Linked DNA regions of Homo sapiens: all the other regions are linked to region 1. The links are contacts of gene promoters, found by promoter capture Hi-C in blood cells and fetal thymus (Javierre and others, 2016). All regions are on one chromosome and are shown on one strand. The core of a region is centred on a gene start or on the middle of the fragment in contact, and the rest is flanking DNA. Distances in the headings are between cores, read along the strand shown.

Region 1 (2,700 bases), core at 123-2,622:
AACTATGAAAATGTAGCTTAAAATTTGAAAAATATCTAAACATGCCCAAAGTATAGCAACTTATATGTATCCCTTTTCCCAACCCAAAAATTTAGCAGGCTTCCCAGGTCGTCAGAGAGAGTAAGATCCTAAATAGCTTTTACAGTTCTCCACATTGAAACAGCTCACATCACACACCTCAGGATACCTGATGTTTCCAAATCACTTTGCAGTGATTCGGTTTGGCTACTCTGTAAACGCAATAACCACGTGCATGCTGAGTTAGAGAGATGTAGCTGAGTGACTCAACAGTGAAAGGCATTTACCTGACACGGGTCCCTAACAATGAAAAGCTCTGCCTAACTCGGCAGTTTTCCATCTAAGGGTAATTTCATCTGCACTCATAAAACATTCACTAAATCAAGCTACTACTTCACTTAACCTCCACATCCTAATACAGACTTCAGATTGGGGTGGGTGGGGAGCAGTGTGATCGGCTTGAAAGCGGGGCGGGAGGGGCGAGCAGATGTTAAAATCAAAAAGCAGTGAGTTCAAAAAGCTGAGAATGTAGAGGTGCCTGGGAAAGGCAAAAGTTAAGAGTTGAGAGTCCCACAACCTGGACGGGGACGAGAACACGTGGTGAGCCGGCACCCAAAGGGGGGGCAGGAGGGGGAAGGTCCGGAAGCAAGTACAGACTAGTCCATACCAACTGCCCAGTGCAAAACTGATGAGCCGGATCACAGACAGAGGAAAGTTAGATAGTCCCAAGATGGGGCTCTGTCAAAAACCAGAACTCTGATGAGCCAAGGCCCGGCAGAAGGAAGCCGCCCCAGGGGGACCAGGGGACTTGGCGAACATGGCTGCCCGTCAACAGTGGGGCCCAGGCCTCATTGGGCCAGCCGGCAGGGCTCGGATACGAGGCCGGCCGGGTCGAGCTGCGCCCTCCCTCACTGCCCTCGCGGCAGGCCGCACGCGGGGCTGGCGGCTTGGGCCCTGAACGCGCCGACGCCGCCTCCAAGCCTTCTGGCCCGGGCCGCTGAGAGCCACGCGCGATGCCGGACCACGCGCCACCCGGCCCGGAGGCCCGAAGCCGAGCCCGGGAAGGCGCCCGCCCCGCGCAGTCCCGCTCGCTTTACCTTGGCCTGCAGCCGCGCTGGCGCCCAGGCCAGACAGGTGCAGGTACCACTGAGGTGCGCGGAAGGCACGTACTCCTGGTGCAGCCGGTTGTTGGCCGTCTCCCATACTCGTAAGTGACCGTCGGTAGAGGCCAAAGCGAAGTAGGCCTGGCTGTGCGGGGAGAAGGCGCAAGGGACCCCAGCAGGGGCCAGGGGGTCGCAGCTACCGCCGCCGCCCGCCGCCATTGCTGCTCTGGCCCCGCTGCAGCCACGTGTTCGTCCGTGCGCAGGCGCACCGGCGCGGGGCGGAGCCTGGAGGAGGAAGTGAGGCGGAGGGAGCGCCGGGGGCTCAGGGAGTGGATCTTCGCGTCGCAGGAGAGCTTCTGGCGGATCCGCCCTGTGGACGGTGGCCCGCTAGGGCCTGTCGCTATCTTGTTCTGGGCGGGAGTGGGAGTATGGGAGAAAGTAATTGTAGAATTAAGATCAAGTCCTGTTCCTTTAAAAAAAAAAAAAAAGGGGGGGGGCCGGGCGCGGTGGCTCACGCCTGTAATCACAGCACTTTGGGAGGCCGAAGTGGGCGGATCCCCTGAGGTCGGAGTTCGAGACCAGCCTGACCAACATGTAGAAACCCCCGTCTCTACTAAAAATAAAAAAATTAGCCGTGGGCTGGGCGCGGTGGCTCACGCCTGTAATCCTAGCACTTTGGGAGGCCGAGGCGGGTGGATCATAAGGTCAGGAGTTCAAGACCAGCCTGGCCAAGATGATGAAACCTCGTCTCTACTAAAAATACAAAAAAATTAGCCGGGCTTGGTGGTTGGCACCTGTATGTAATCCCAGCCACTCGGGAGGCTGAGGCAGAGAATTGGTTGAACCCGGGAGGCGGAGATTGCAGTGAGCCGAGATCGCGCCCCTGCACTCCAGCCTGGGCGACAGAGCGAGACTCGTCTCAAAAAAAAAAAAAAAAAAAAAAAAAAAAAAAAAATAGCCAGGCGTGTGGCGCACGCCTGTAATCCCAGCTACTCGAGAGGCTGAGGCAGGAGAATCGCTTGAACTCGGGAGATGGAGGTTGCTGTGAGCCGAGATCGCGCCATTATACTCCGGGCAACAAGAGTGAAACTCCGTCTTAAAAAAATAAATAATAAATAAATAACAATTTTTTAAAACTTTAAAGAAAATGATAAGGTAGAACGAAAGGTTTGAAGGAAATCTTCAGCCGAGCGCGGTGGCTTACACCTATAATCCCACTTTGGGAGGCCGAGGCGGGCAGATCGCCCGAGGTCAGAGTTCGAGACCAAGCTAGGCAAAATGGCGAAACCTTGTCTCTACTAAAAATACTAAAATTAGCCGGGTGTGGTGGTGTGTGCCTGTAGTCCCAGCTACTCGGGAGACTGAGGCAGGAGACTCCTTGAACCCGGGAGGTGGAGGTTGCAGTGAGCCGAAATCGCCACGCCACTGCACTCCAGTCTAGGTGACAGAGCGAGACTGTCTCAAAAAAAAAGAGAGAGAAAAGAAGTCTTCACTTTCAAATTGATAATGATTGTAACAACTGCTTCCGTTTCCCCCTATTCAATTCCAGGCTGTAATCATTTACAAAATAACAATGTAT
Region 2 (2,700 bases), core at 67-2,566, 330 kb after region 1:
TTTCAATTATTTTGGTATACACCTGAGAGTGGAATTGGTGGATTATATGGTAATCCTATGCTTATCTTTTTGAGGAAGCATCAAGCTGTTTTCCACAGCTTGACTATACATATTTTTATCTTTTGAGTTTGAGCATTCCGTGTGATGTGGCAGCTATTAACTCACAGGACAAACATGTTGAACACGAAGCAGTGGCTGGGTGCTTTGGAGACCACACAGTGATCAGAAACAGAGAATGCCCTCAAAAAGCTCACAAGCTAAGGAGAAAATGAGAAATAGCCATAGTTATTATAGTGTAAGACCGATAAACACTAAAAGAGGTGTGAAGTGATGTGAAGCTATAGAGCTGGAGGGATGATCTTCCCCTGGGGGGCCTGAGGAGGGGGTCACAGCAGGCTTCATGGAGAAGGTCGCATTTGAATTAAGCCTCAGGAATAACAGGAGGATGAGGGAGAGCGAGATCGGGTGATGGAGGGAAAAGCGTGATGGATGGATGTGGTAGGGTCGAGCTTGGATGTCTCGAAAGCCCAGCTAGTCACAGTTTGGCTTGCATGAAGCATATATGAGAGAGCAAAGAGAAAACCACCTTGGAAAGGTAGGTTAGGGCCACAGGGCCTAACCAATATCTGGTAACCAGTAATCTGCTTTCTGCCTCTATAGATTTATCTATTCTGGATATTTCATGTAAATAGAATAATATAATACGTGACTCTTTGTGTCTGGCTTCTTCTACTTTGCATAATGTTTTCAAGGTTCAATTATGTTGTAGCATCTATCAATATATTCGTTTTATTTTTATTTTTCGAGACAAGGTCTCACTCTGTCACCTAGGCTGTGGCGTGTGATCATGGCTCACTGCAGCCTCGGCCTCCTGGGCTCAAGCGATCCTCCCACCTCAGCCTCCTGAGTAGCTGGGATTATAAGCTTTTATGCCTGGCTAACAAGTTAGGAGTTTAACATAGATATTGCTATATATGTAATTACTCACATACACACACAGGTACTACATCTACCTACCCCTTTACCTTATACACATAAGAAAGTGAATCCTAGTGTATTTGGGGGACCACCCCTAGAATTTCTTAAGCCATATATAGCTTGGTCTCTCAAGTCACAAGCTCACCTCCCACTCCCCCAATTACCTCACCCCCAAGGTCACCCTGACTTGGCCATAGCTCTACCTTTGCCGATGTGCTTCTATTGTGTCTAGTGGCACAACGCTGCACTAAATTATTGAAATAGCTCTTGTGGTTTGGAAGAAGCCTAGTACAGAGTTTGTACCAAGGAGTGGCCCACCCTGGTACATTTCAGTGGTTAAGTGCTTAAGAAGGATAAACTGAAAGTTGTCTGCAGGAGGCTTTCTCAACAGCCTTCTTTGCCAAAGACAGTTTATAAAGCCTGTAGCGTGACCAGATTACAATCCCAGCACTTTGGGAGGCCGACACGGGCAGATCACCTGAGGTCAGGAGTTTCAGACCAGCCTGTCCAAAATGATGAAACCCCGTCTCTACTAAAAATACAAAAATTAGCCAGGCATGGAGGTGTGCTCTTATAGTCCCAGCTATTTGGGAGGCTGAGGCATGAGAATTGCTTGAACCTGGGAGGAGGAGGCTGCAGTGAGCCGAGATTGCGCCACTGCAATCCAGCCTGGGAGATAGAGCGAGACTCCGTCTCAAAAAAAAAAAAAAAAAAAAAAAAAAAAAGCTTTCAGGCCTGCAGTGAAACACAGGGTGAGATGATTTTGACACAGCTGGACTATATACAACCCACAGCACCCATCAACATCCAAATCATGGCTGTGGAATTGTACCTGTGCAGGAAGCCGGATTAACATTGAGTGGAAAACATACTCAAGGGACTTCCAGGTCTCCAAGGTCTCGTCTCCTTTCATGGAGACATCTTGTCTACCTTCTTTCATGCTGTCTGCAATGGGGAGAGCCACTCCCAATGAGGATTTGCTCTCATTGGAAAAGTAAAAGTTCTTGCCTCTTCCTATGAAAGGATACAAACTCACACATACATAGTTGTAAATATATGTGTGCAAAACATATAGAGCAGCGGTCCTCCAATTGAGCCTGCATCGGAATCACCTGGAGAGCCTGTGAAAACACAGATGGCTGGGCCCCACCTTCAGAATTTTTGACTCAATAGGTCTGGGGTGGGCCCAAGGATTTGCATTTCCAACAAGTTTCCAGGTAATGCTGATGCTGCCAGTCCAGTCTGGGTACCACATTTTCAGAACCACTGATAGAGACACTCGATTATCAAAGCCATTGACTGCAGTCAAGTACTGCGCTTGGACCTGAAAAACCTGGAATCAAGCCCAGGAGGCAGAGGCTGCAGTGAGCTATGATTGCACCACTGCACTCCAGCCTGGGCAACAAAGTGAGACTGTCTGTAAAAAATTAAATAAATATTTGGCTGCGTGTGATGGCTCATGCCTATAATCCCAGCACTTAGGGAGGCCAAGTTGGGAGGATCACTTGAGCCCAGAAGTTCGAGACCAGCCTGGGCAATATAGTGAGACTCCTTCAATAAAAAAGAAAAAAAAGACTAGAGTTGTTTCTCCTGTGTGTATGTATAAATTGTCTTGTGGCCCTCACAACTGTAGCTGCCACTGCACAGCCTGATGACAACTCTGCCTCTTAGATTCAAGAGCTGCTGACTATCCTTCTTCAGTGTTCTTTCTCCTCCCCACCG
Region 3 (2,700 bases), core at 75-2,574, 290 kb before region 1:
TGACAGAATTTAGATTTAAAATAGTATATTGCAAAATAGTTCAACATATTATTTCTAAGCACAAGGCAAGCTCCATTCTGAAGGATGCTTTTTAATCTTATAAAGCAAACTGTTCCAATATTTCTGTGGTAAAGTCTAAATATTTACAATAAAAGATGAATCTTTACACAGACAGGACATAAACTTCAATACCTAACCACAATGCAAACATTTTACATTATGACATCACTCTAATGTGAAGCTTAGTTTGTTAACATGTGCTCAAGAAGGAAAATAAAAACAATACAGTTCTGTAGCTTTGTAACAGGCAGAACTCTGCAACAATTAGAGAAATAAAAACAGCAAACAACACCAGTTCTATGAGTAACAAAACAAAAAAAATCCAGATATTATAAACATTTAAGTAAATAACTAATACATCCTTCCTGATATATCTTTATTTGCTCTCTTCTGTTAAATACGTTTTTTAAAATGTTTCTCATATCCCAGGAGGAAAGGACAGTAAATTATTCACAAAGATAAAAGTGCATCATGTTTGAAAAGTGCTTTGTGTTTATGTGTTACAAACATATCCAATAAGGAAGTTAAGTAAGTCTGTGCAAAAAAAATCTAATTATTACTTGAATTCATAAACCTTAATCATGGGTTTTTTGTAGTTCATCCAGATGAAGCAGTCAAGCAGCAGAAGAAAAATCTGAGATTAGACATTTTGTATAGCAGAAAGAGCACTGGGCCACAAGTGAGGAGACCCACAGTCTATTCTTAGCTCAGTTAACCAACCAGTTAGTGACCCCAGGTAAGACGGGCTTCCATTTCAGTATTTGGCAATGGGCAAGAAGCAGAGCTGGAGAGCCTCTAAGGCCCCTTCCAACTCCAAAATTATCATGTATCTTTAGATGAGGCATTTCTGAAAGGGCAAATAATTTTACCAAAATATAAAACTACATACTAGTCATCTAGCTACTACTCACTCATTGGACTTATTAGTAATAAAGCACAGAAAGAAAGAAAAATTCCAAAAATGATTGACAAAAAAAGGTCACGTGAACATTACACATAACCAAAGCTAGAGAAACCCTTCACAATTAGGGCACTAAGAAAAATCCATTATGATGTGCAAAAACAAAACAGAATAAGCAAGAAATGCAACAGCTGGTCACCTGATGGCACTTTTTCTTCCTGAGTCCCAGAATCTTCTTGGAACCTAAAGCTTTAATTGGTACTTATTTTGAAAATTGCTTTAAAAGAACCATGATTCCCCATAGTTCATATTCATGGCTTTGTAAAGAACTCTCTCTGAATTGTTATAATGGTTTTTAAGAAGATAACTATATTTTCAAAATTTTAATATGGCTAAATAAAGTAAACCATTTACCATGGACTCTTTATTTACACCAAATATATATATTTGAGCTTATTTAATATTTTAGAAGCTTAACAATTCTCATCCACAAGTTTTGACCCATTAATTCCCCGATAGGTCACTCTGCTCGGTCGAACTAAGACTCCATGGTTCGGCTTACAGGTGAAATAGCGCTTGTCACCCACTGACCCATCATTTTTTCCCTTGGCGCTTCGGAGCTCAAGTCCAAGCCAGATACCTGAAGCAAAGTCAGTGGGGCCCACATACCTAACAGTACCCATCTCATTGGAGCTCGTGAGCAGGACCTGAGACCCCTCGTGCAGCTTCACGCTCCCTTCAATGCCACCTGCGGTGGGGGTGCTGCTCCAACTGCGACGCAAAGCAGCTTTCGATCTGTGCGGAAGGGAAAAGTGGGAAAAATTATTTAGTGCTGAAGCCACGTAATGCAATGCATCATATTCATTTCCACTGCCAGATTCAGAATTCATTCACTCAGTTCCCAAAAGAGAATACTTTATGGTCACAACTTGATTTTTAAATTTTAAATAGCAGTTTTAGAGTATACAGTTGACCCATGAACTACACAGGTTTGAAGTACGTGGGTCCACGCATACACAGAAGTTTCTTCCACCTCCGCCACCTGGGACAACAAGACCAACCCCTTCTCTTCCTCCTTCTCCTCAGCCTGCACAAAGTGAGGACAATGAAGAAGAAGATCTTTATGATGATCCGCTTCTATTTCAGGAATAGTAAATATATTTTCCCTATGACTTTAACATTTTTTTCTCTTTATAGTAAAAATACAGTACATACTATATGTAACATACAAAATATGTATTAATCAGCTGTTTATGTTATAGGTAAGGCTTCCAGTCAACAATAGGCTATCAGTAGTTAAGTTTTGGGGGAGTCCAAAGTTACACACTGATTTTCAACTGTTGCAGGCAAGCAGGGGATGGCACTCCTAACCCCTGCACTCATTACTCAAAGTTCAACTGTACTTCTGTTTAACATTTTAAAAGTTTTTGTCTTTTGCGCTATTTTAAGACTACCCCATTCTGGATTTAAGATTTCATTTGCCATATATATATATATACATGTGTACACACACACACACACACACATACATATATATGCTTTCAGTAAAATAGCAATTAGAAAAAATACACTTATACCTAATTAATTTCTACCAGTATTATCAAATAACGCAAAAAGAATCTAGTATTTTGGCTGTTTTAATTGCTATCAATATTATCAAATAAAGCAAAAAGAATCTAGTATTTTGACAGTGTAGTAAATTTAAATTATTTTTTGTTCACTTTAAAAAATATTTTTTC
Region 4 (2,700 bases), core at 88-2,587, 310 kb before region 1:
TGCTGAGATTACAGGCATGAGCCACAGCGCCCGGCCTCAAGATCTATCTTGAATGTAGAGTTAACAGGACTGCTGACTGTTGGATGGGAAGTGGAGGGGTGTGGGATAACGGAGTCAAGGATGACTCCTGGGTTTTGGGCTTGAACAAATGCATAACCAGAGGTGCTGCTGAGTTGGGAAAGAATGAAAGAGGAGATGGTGTGGGTTCAGAAGGAGTTCCGTTTGGGCATGTTAAATTTGAGTTGCCTATTAAAATAGGCCAGTGAAGCTAATGAGTGGGCATCTGATAGATGAAACTAAAGATCAGAGAACTGTATGAGATCTTGGTGTATGAGATCTTGGAATCCACTGGATGGACATTTAAAGATATTAATTTTTGGCTCCCATTTTTCCTAAGAGCATAACCTCTATCACACCTGGAGACCATCTTCCACAATGTTTTTTTTTTTCTTTAATCATAACCTCCTTTCAGGTTATGATTAAGGAGAAAAATGTAGCTTTTAAAGGCTGATACAGAACAGCTTGATATTTTAAAATCTTTTATCAGATTATCTTCATCGATTCAAATGTTTAACAGTTTAATCAGCAATAATGTTTGCTATTATTTCTATCAATCATTCCAGGCAGAGCAAGTTTAATACCAAAAGAAAGTGAAGTTTAAAAATATATATATACACATATATATACGTATCTATATACACACACATATATATACGTATATATGTATATACACACATATATATGTATACATGTATATACATATATATACGTATATATATACATATATACGTATATATATACGTATATATATACATATATACGTATGTATATTTGATTTTAAATGCTCTGGTGCAAAGCTTTGGGCTTTTGTCGCTCCTGTTTAGGGCAGGCTTATAGGTGATGAAAGAACCATCTGGCATACAAAATATAGATTTGCCTCATCTGTAGGGTTTCTAGATAAAATACAAAATGGTCAGTGAAATTGAATTTCAGATGCACAGCAAATAGTTTTTTAGTATAAATATTGGAGCATACATATACTAAAAAAACTATGTGTTGCTTATCTGGAACTCAAATTTAACTAGGTATCTGGTATTGTTTGCAAATATGAAAATCCTACTTATTCAAAATTGTCAAAGTTCTATGACCAATACTACTTCTTGCTCCCTTGAACTCTAAACTAAGAAAATAAATATTCATGTGCAGTTCTATTAGTGCTCTCAAAGGATGCTATAACCTATATCTATCTAGAAAAACAGAAAACATATAGCTATAATTCTTTAGGCCTTACTGCCAGTTTCTTGTTCATTTGATTTTGCCTAGTTAGTTTTGCCTTGAAGGGAAGTAAGATCACCAAACAGAAAGGAATAATATATGTGCCAGGCAATTTGTAAGTAGCAAAATCAAGAGATCTCCAAACAGAAAGGAATAATATATGTGCCAGGCAATTTGTAAGTAGCAAAATCAAGAGATCTAATAATGTATTCCAGTCTGTCTCGGATTAGTTGTATAATAACCTGTGCTTCAACCTTCTCACCTGAAAAATAGGGAAAATATCTTTGCCCAATCCTTCTCACAAGAGTCTTTGAAATTTCACACAGATGATGACAATAAAAGCACCCCATGTTTCTTAGAAGATGAAGGAACTATTGTTCTCTACAATTTTTGTGGTAATATTTGCTAACCTCAGAAAACTACAATCACACTAAAAGATAGTCTTTGTCAAAAAGCTGATCATTAGGTAGTGGTTTAAAGTTTTAATCAAAATATCAAAGGTGATTCTTTTAGAACACGAAGAATTCATCTCATAAAGCTTTTAAAAAAACAAATGAGAAATCAAATATTTTTTAAAGAGAAATAGAGAAAAATGCCTTTTCAGATTTAAGACAAATACACAGAAAGTAAAATAGAATGGTATCAATGCAAGAAGCAGACAAATAGATGAAGTGAAAATATAGCCAGAAACAGACCTGTTTTTAATCGTGAGTCAATGGGTAAGGAGGAAATTATCTTATGCATAGTGTTGGAAGAGTAGTTATTTGAAAAGCAAATCAATTTAGGTCCTTACCTCACACTAGACACCAAATTAAATTCCAACTAGATTTAAGAAGAGAGCAAAAACAAACACAACTAGAAGAAGATAGCAAATATTTATCTAATCTTTGGTGAAGGGAAGATTGTATAACTATAAAATAAAGGAAATCATGACATTAAAAAAATAGGTTTGACTATCTAAAAATAAAAATCTTTCTTTGGTATGCTAAAAAGTAGCATTAGAAAGCAACTAAGGCCAGGTGCGGTGTTTCACATCTGTAATCCCAGCACTTTGGGAGGCCGAGGTGGGTGGATCACCTGAGATCAGGAGTTCAAGACCAGCCTGGCCAACATGACGAAACCCTGTCTCTACTAAAAATACAAAAATTAGCCAGGTGTTGTGGTGGGCGCCTGTAATCCCAGCTACTTGGGAGGCTGAGGCAGGCGAATCACTTGAACCTGGAAGGTGGAGGTTGCAGTGAGCCAAGATGGCACCACTGCACTCCAGCCTGAGTAACAGAGTGAGACTACATAAAAAAAAAAAAAGAAAACAACTAATAAAAGTATTTGAATTTTTTATAAAAGGTTAACATCTCTGACATATAAAGAGTGCCTACAAATCAAAAAGAAAATTGATTGATAGATACCAATTTGTCCCAGCAGATA
Region 5 (2,700 bases), core at 68-2,567, 310 kb after region 1:
ACAATAATAATTGCTAAGATACATTGATTTGAGTGTATCTTAGCAATTATTATTGAATAATTAACATTGAACACTGTACCAAGCACTGCAATAAAAACTTTATGGGTATTAACCTGTTTAGTCCTCCCAGCCATTCTAGAAGTGGTATTCTCATTATCCCTGTTTTAGAGATGAGGAAACCCAGGCTCAGGGTGGTTGAGTAACTTTCTCAAGGTTGCATGGGTGCTGAGTGTGGGAGCTAGGACTTGAACTCAAGTCTGCCTGGCTCTGAACCTGAGCTCTTAATCTCTATGTTAAACTGCTTCCATCCAATCTGCAGCTCTGACCCGGCCAGCTATCTGGCACATCTGGGCTTTTGGTCCAGGGGGATGAGGTGATAACAGCAGGGATGGCTCCGTGTAGACTCAGCACTGCAGAGGAAAGCACAGCCACCCGATGAAACAGTGGAGAGGCGGGGAGTGCAGGGCACTGCAGAGGTGGCAGGAGAAGGTGACCTGAGTCTATCCAACCTTGACATTCAGTGACTTGGCCATCTCAGATCTGTGAATGGGCCTGGCAAATGCCTATTTTGAACCTTGAGTTTGAATGGTCTAAAAAACCCTGCCAAGATGGGTAGCAAGAGGCTTTCTGGTAAACTGCTCTGAAATGGAGTGAAGACACCGATCCCCTGTGTGGCCCAGTGACTGGAGAAAGTGTGAGCCAGCGGATGAGTCAGCAGTTGGAAATAGCATGCCTGACACCAGCTGCGTTCATAGGAACATGTCACCCAAGCAACCATCCTGTCTCTGCTCACAGCACCGTGAGGCCTTCTCCAGGGGACCTGTGCGGTTTGGGTCCCCCAGGTGAGGCATGGCATGGATCTGCAGAGGAGCAGGAAAGGTACCCCTTAACTTCCAAGAGCAAGTCTGGCCCTTGTGAATTATTCAGTCATTCAGCAAACAGCAGCTGAGCCCCTACACCATGCTAGCAGTGACTCAGGCTGAGTTCACAGGCTGTGGGGGAGGGAGGCACATGAGTAATTACCATGTGATGTGCTCAGGGCTGGGGTGGGGACCTGTACCGAGTAACAGAGCTGGGGGGCAGGGTAGGGGAGCACAGTCTCAGTGACCTTGGCTAACAGTCCAGAGGAAAACCTGCAGGAAGGAAGGCTGCGGAAAACGTTCATGCTTCACTTAGAGGAACGTCTTATTCCTGACGGTCCTGGAGATGTGTGATACAGGCTGGGTCTCCCTTATCTGAAATGCTTTGAGCCAGAAGCATTTCAGATTTCAGATTTTTTTTTTTTTGGAATATTTGCATTACCCTATGGCTATCGTTTTAAGCCACATCTTTACCACACAGAGAATGAGCAAAAACTAGGTGAGTAATGCACGCAGGTCTTAGCCCCACATGAGCCATTATGGGGAACCTGTTGTTGGAGCATCCGGCCTGCACATGTGCCATTTTGCTACCCTTTGTGGGCATGCTTGAGCCGCAGGATCTGGGCATGCCCAGAAAAGAGAGTGCATCGCAGCTGAAGGAGGCTTTTTGGGGATGCTGAATAAACTGCGTGCTGTGCACCTGTGTTTTCACTACAACCTGTCACATGAAGTCAGGTGTGGAATTTTCCCCTTGTGGTGTCATGTCAGCACTTTAAAAGTTTTGGATTCGGGGCCAGGCATGGTGGCTTCACGCCTGTAATCCCAGCACTTTGGGAGGCCGAGGAGGGTGGATCACCTGAGGTCAGCAGTTCGGGACCAGCTTGGCCAACATGATAAAACTCCGTCTCTACTAAAAATACAAAAATTAGCTGGGCATGGTGGTGTGCCTGTAATCCCAGCTACTAAGGAGGCTGAGGTGGGAGAATTGCTTGAACCTGGGAGGCGGAGACTGCAGTGAGCCAAGATCATGCCACTGCACTCCAGCCTAGGCAACAGAGCGAGACCCTGTCTCAAAAAAAAAAAAAAGTTTTGGATTTTGGAGCATTTCAGATTTCAGATTTTCGGATGAGGGATGCTCAGCCTGTATTAGAAGGGGAAGCCAGCTCTGTCTGGCTCTGGAGGCTGAGGGGTGAAGACGTCCTCTCAGGCACCTTCTCAGGACCAGGGTTCTCTACTCTCTGGGGAGGACTCTGTCCTCTGGACCCTGCTAATTCTGGTTTGACCTCCTTCTCTGGCAGGTGACAGTGGCCCTATATCTGTGAATGCTTTACATGGAACACCCATACCAACCAGAGGCACCCCTGTCCTAGAGATGGGCCTCTAGGAGGGGGCAGATCAGCTCTGGACACACTTGGAAGTAGGTCCCAGCAGTGGCCTGGGCGGTCCCCGGGCCTCAGACACACAGCTTGACTCCATTCCTAGCGTTTTACTCTTCCCTCTGGAGGCCTGGAGGGTGCCTTGTGGCTGCCATGGCAACAGAGGCGGGGTGCAGGGGTAGTTCCCCATGCACACCCTGAGGTGGGCTGAGGCCTACACCAGGGTGGAAAAATCCTAGGATATCCTCCCCTTAGGCTTTTCCAGGTTAGAAGATGGGGTGGTCACAGCCCTTTCACACTTCGGCCCTTGGGTTTTCTAAGGAATTTGCTAAGGGTGCCACTGCCCTTAGCAGTGAGGATTCTTAGTAGAATCGGGGAGAAGTATCTGTCTGACCTGAGGATCATCCTTGGGCAGTAGACTTTTTTCTCCTGGTACAGCTCCCTCAGGTTGACGATCTCAAGCA

What was found. Contacts are between HindIII fragments. The CHiCAGO score rates a contact against its expected background, and 5 or more counts as called.
Region 2: a contact is called between a fragment that was not itself captured here and the fragment with the promoter of WDR43 in region 1, in 1 of 17 cell types (total CD8 T cells). The highest score is 5.5, in total CD8 T cells.
Region 3: a fragment that was not itself captured here is called in contact with the fragment with the promoter of WDR43 in region 1 in 1 of 17 cell types (total CD8 T cells); the score reaches 5.1 in total CD8 T cells.
Region 4: a contact is called between a fragment that was not itself captured here and the fragment with the promoter of WDR43 in region 1, in 1 of 17 cell types (naive CD8 T cells). The highest score is 5.3, in naive CD8 T cells.
Region 5: a fragment that was not itself captured here is called in contact with the fragment with the promoter of WDR43 in region 1 in 2 of 17 cell types (naive CD4 T cells and activated CD4 T cells); the score reaches 5.4 in naive CD4 T cells.

Annotation. Positions count from the first base shown.
Region 1 is chr2:28,893,339-28,896,038 of GRCh38, reverse strand. WDR43 (WD repeat domain 43) reads right to left here and starts at 1,372. Exons shown (of 18, transcript NM_015131.3): 1 at 1,116-1,372. The coding sequence starts at 1,340. RefSeq lists enhancers at 1-604, 679-778, 605-1,228 and silencers at 879-998, 1,019-1,068, 1,109-1,168, 1,309-1,388. The HindIII fragment of the contact is 5,798 bases long and covers 1-2,700 here.
Region 2 is chr2:28,558,744-28,561,443 of GRCh38, reverse strand. All of the region lies in intron 17 of PLB1 (phospholipase B1), which reads right to left. Among named protein-coding and RNA genes, the nearest start is that of PLB1, 64 kb to the right of the region's middle. The HindIII fragment of the contact is 780 bases long and covers 927-1,706 here.
Region 3 is chr2:29,180,628-29,183,327 of GRCh38, reverse strand. It overlaps CLIP4 (CAP-Gly domain containing linker protein family member 4), which reads right to left. Exons shown (of 16, transcript NM_024692.6): 16 at 1-1,756. The coding sequence ends at 1,435. Among named protein-coding and RNA genes, the nearest start is that of CLIP4, 67 kb to the right of the region's middle. The HindIII fragment of the contact is 223 bases long and covers 1,213-1,435 here.
Region 4 is chr2:29,198,842-29,201,541 of GRCh38, reverse strand. The region is part of intron 26 of ALK (ALK receptor tyrosine kinase); the gene reads left to right. Among named protein-coding and RNA genes, the nearest start is that of CLIP4, 85 kb to the right of the region's middle. The HindIII fragment of the contact is 956 bases long and covers 860-1,815 here.
Region 5 is chr2:28,582,436-28,585,135 of GRCh38, reverse strand. PLB1 (phospholipase B1) reads right to left here. Exons shown (of 58, transcript NM_153021.5): 25 at 2,631-2,700. Among named protein-coding and RNA genes, the nearest start is that of PLB1, 88 kb to the right of the region's middle. RefSeq lists an enhancer at 612-671. The HindIII fragment of the contact is 5,337 bases long and covers 1-2,700 here.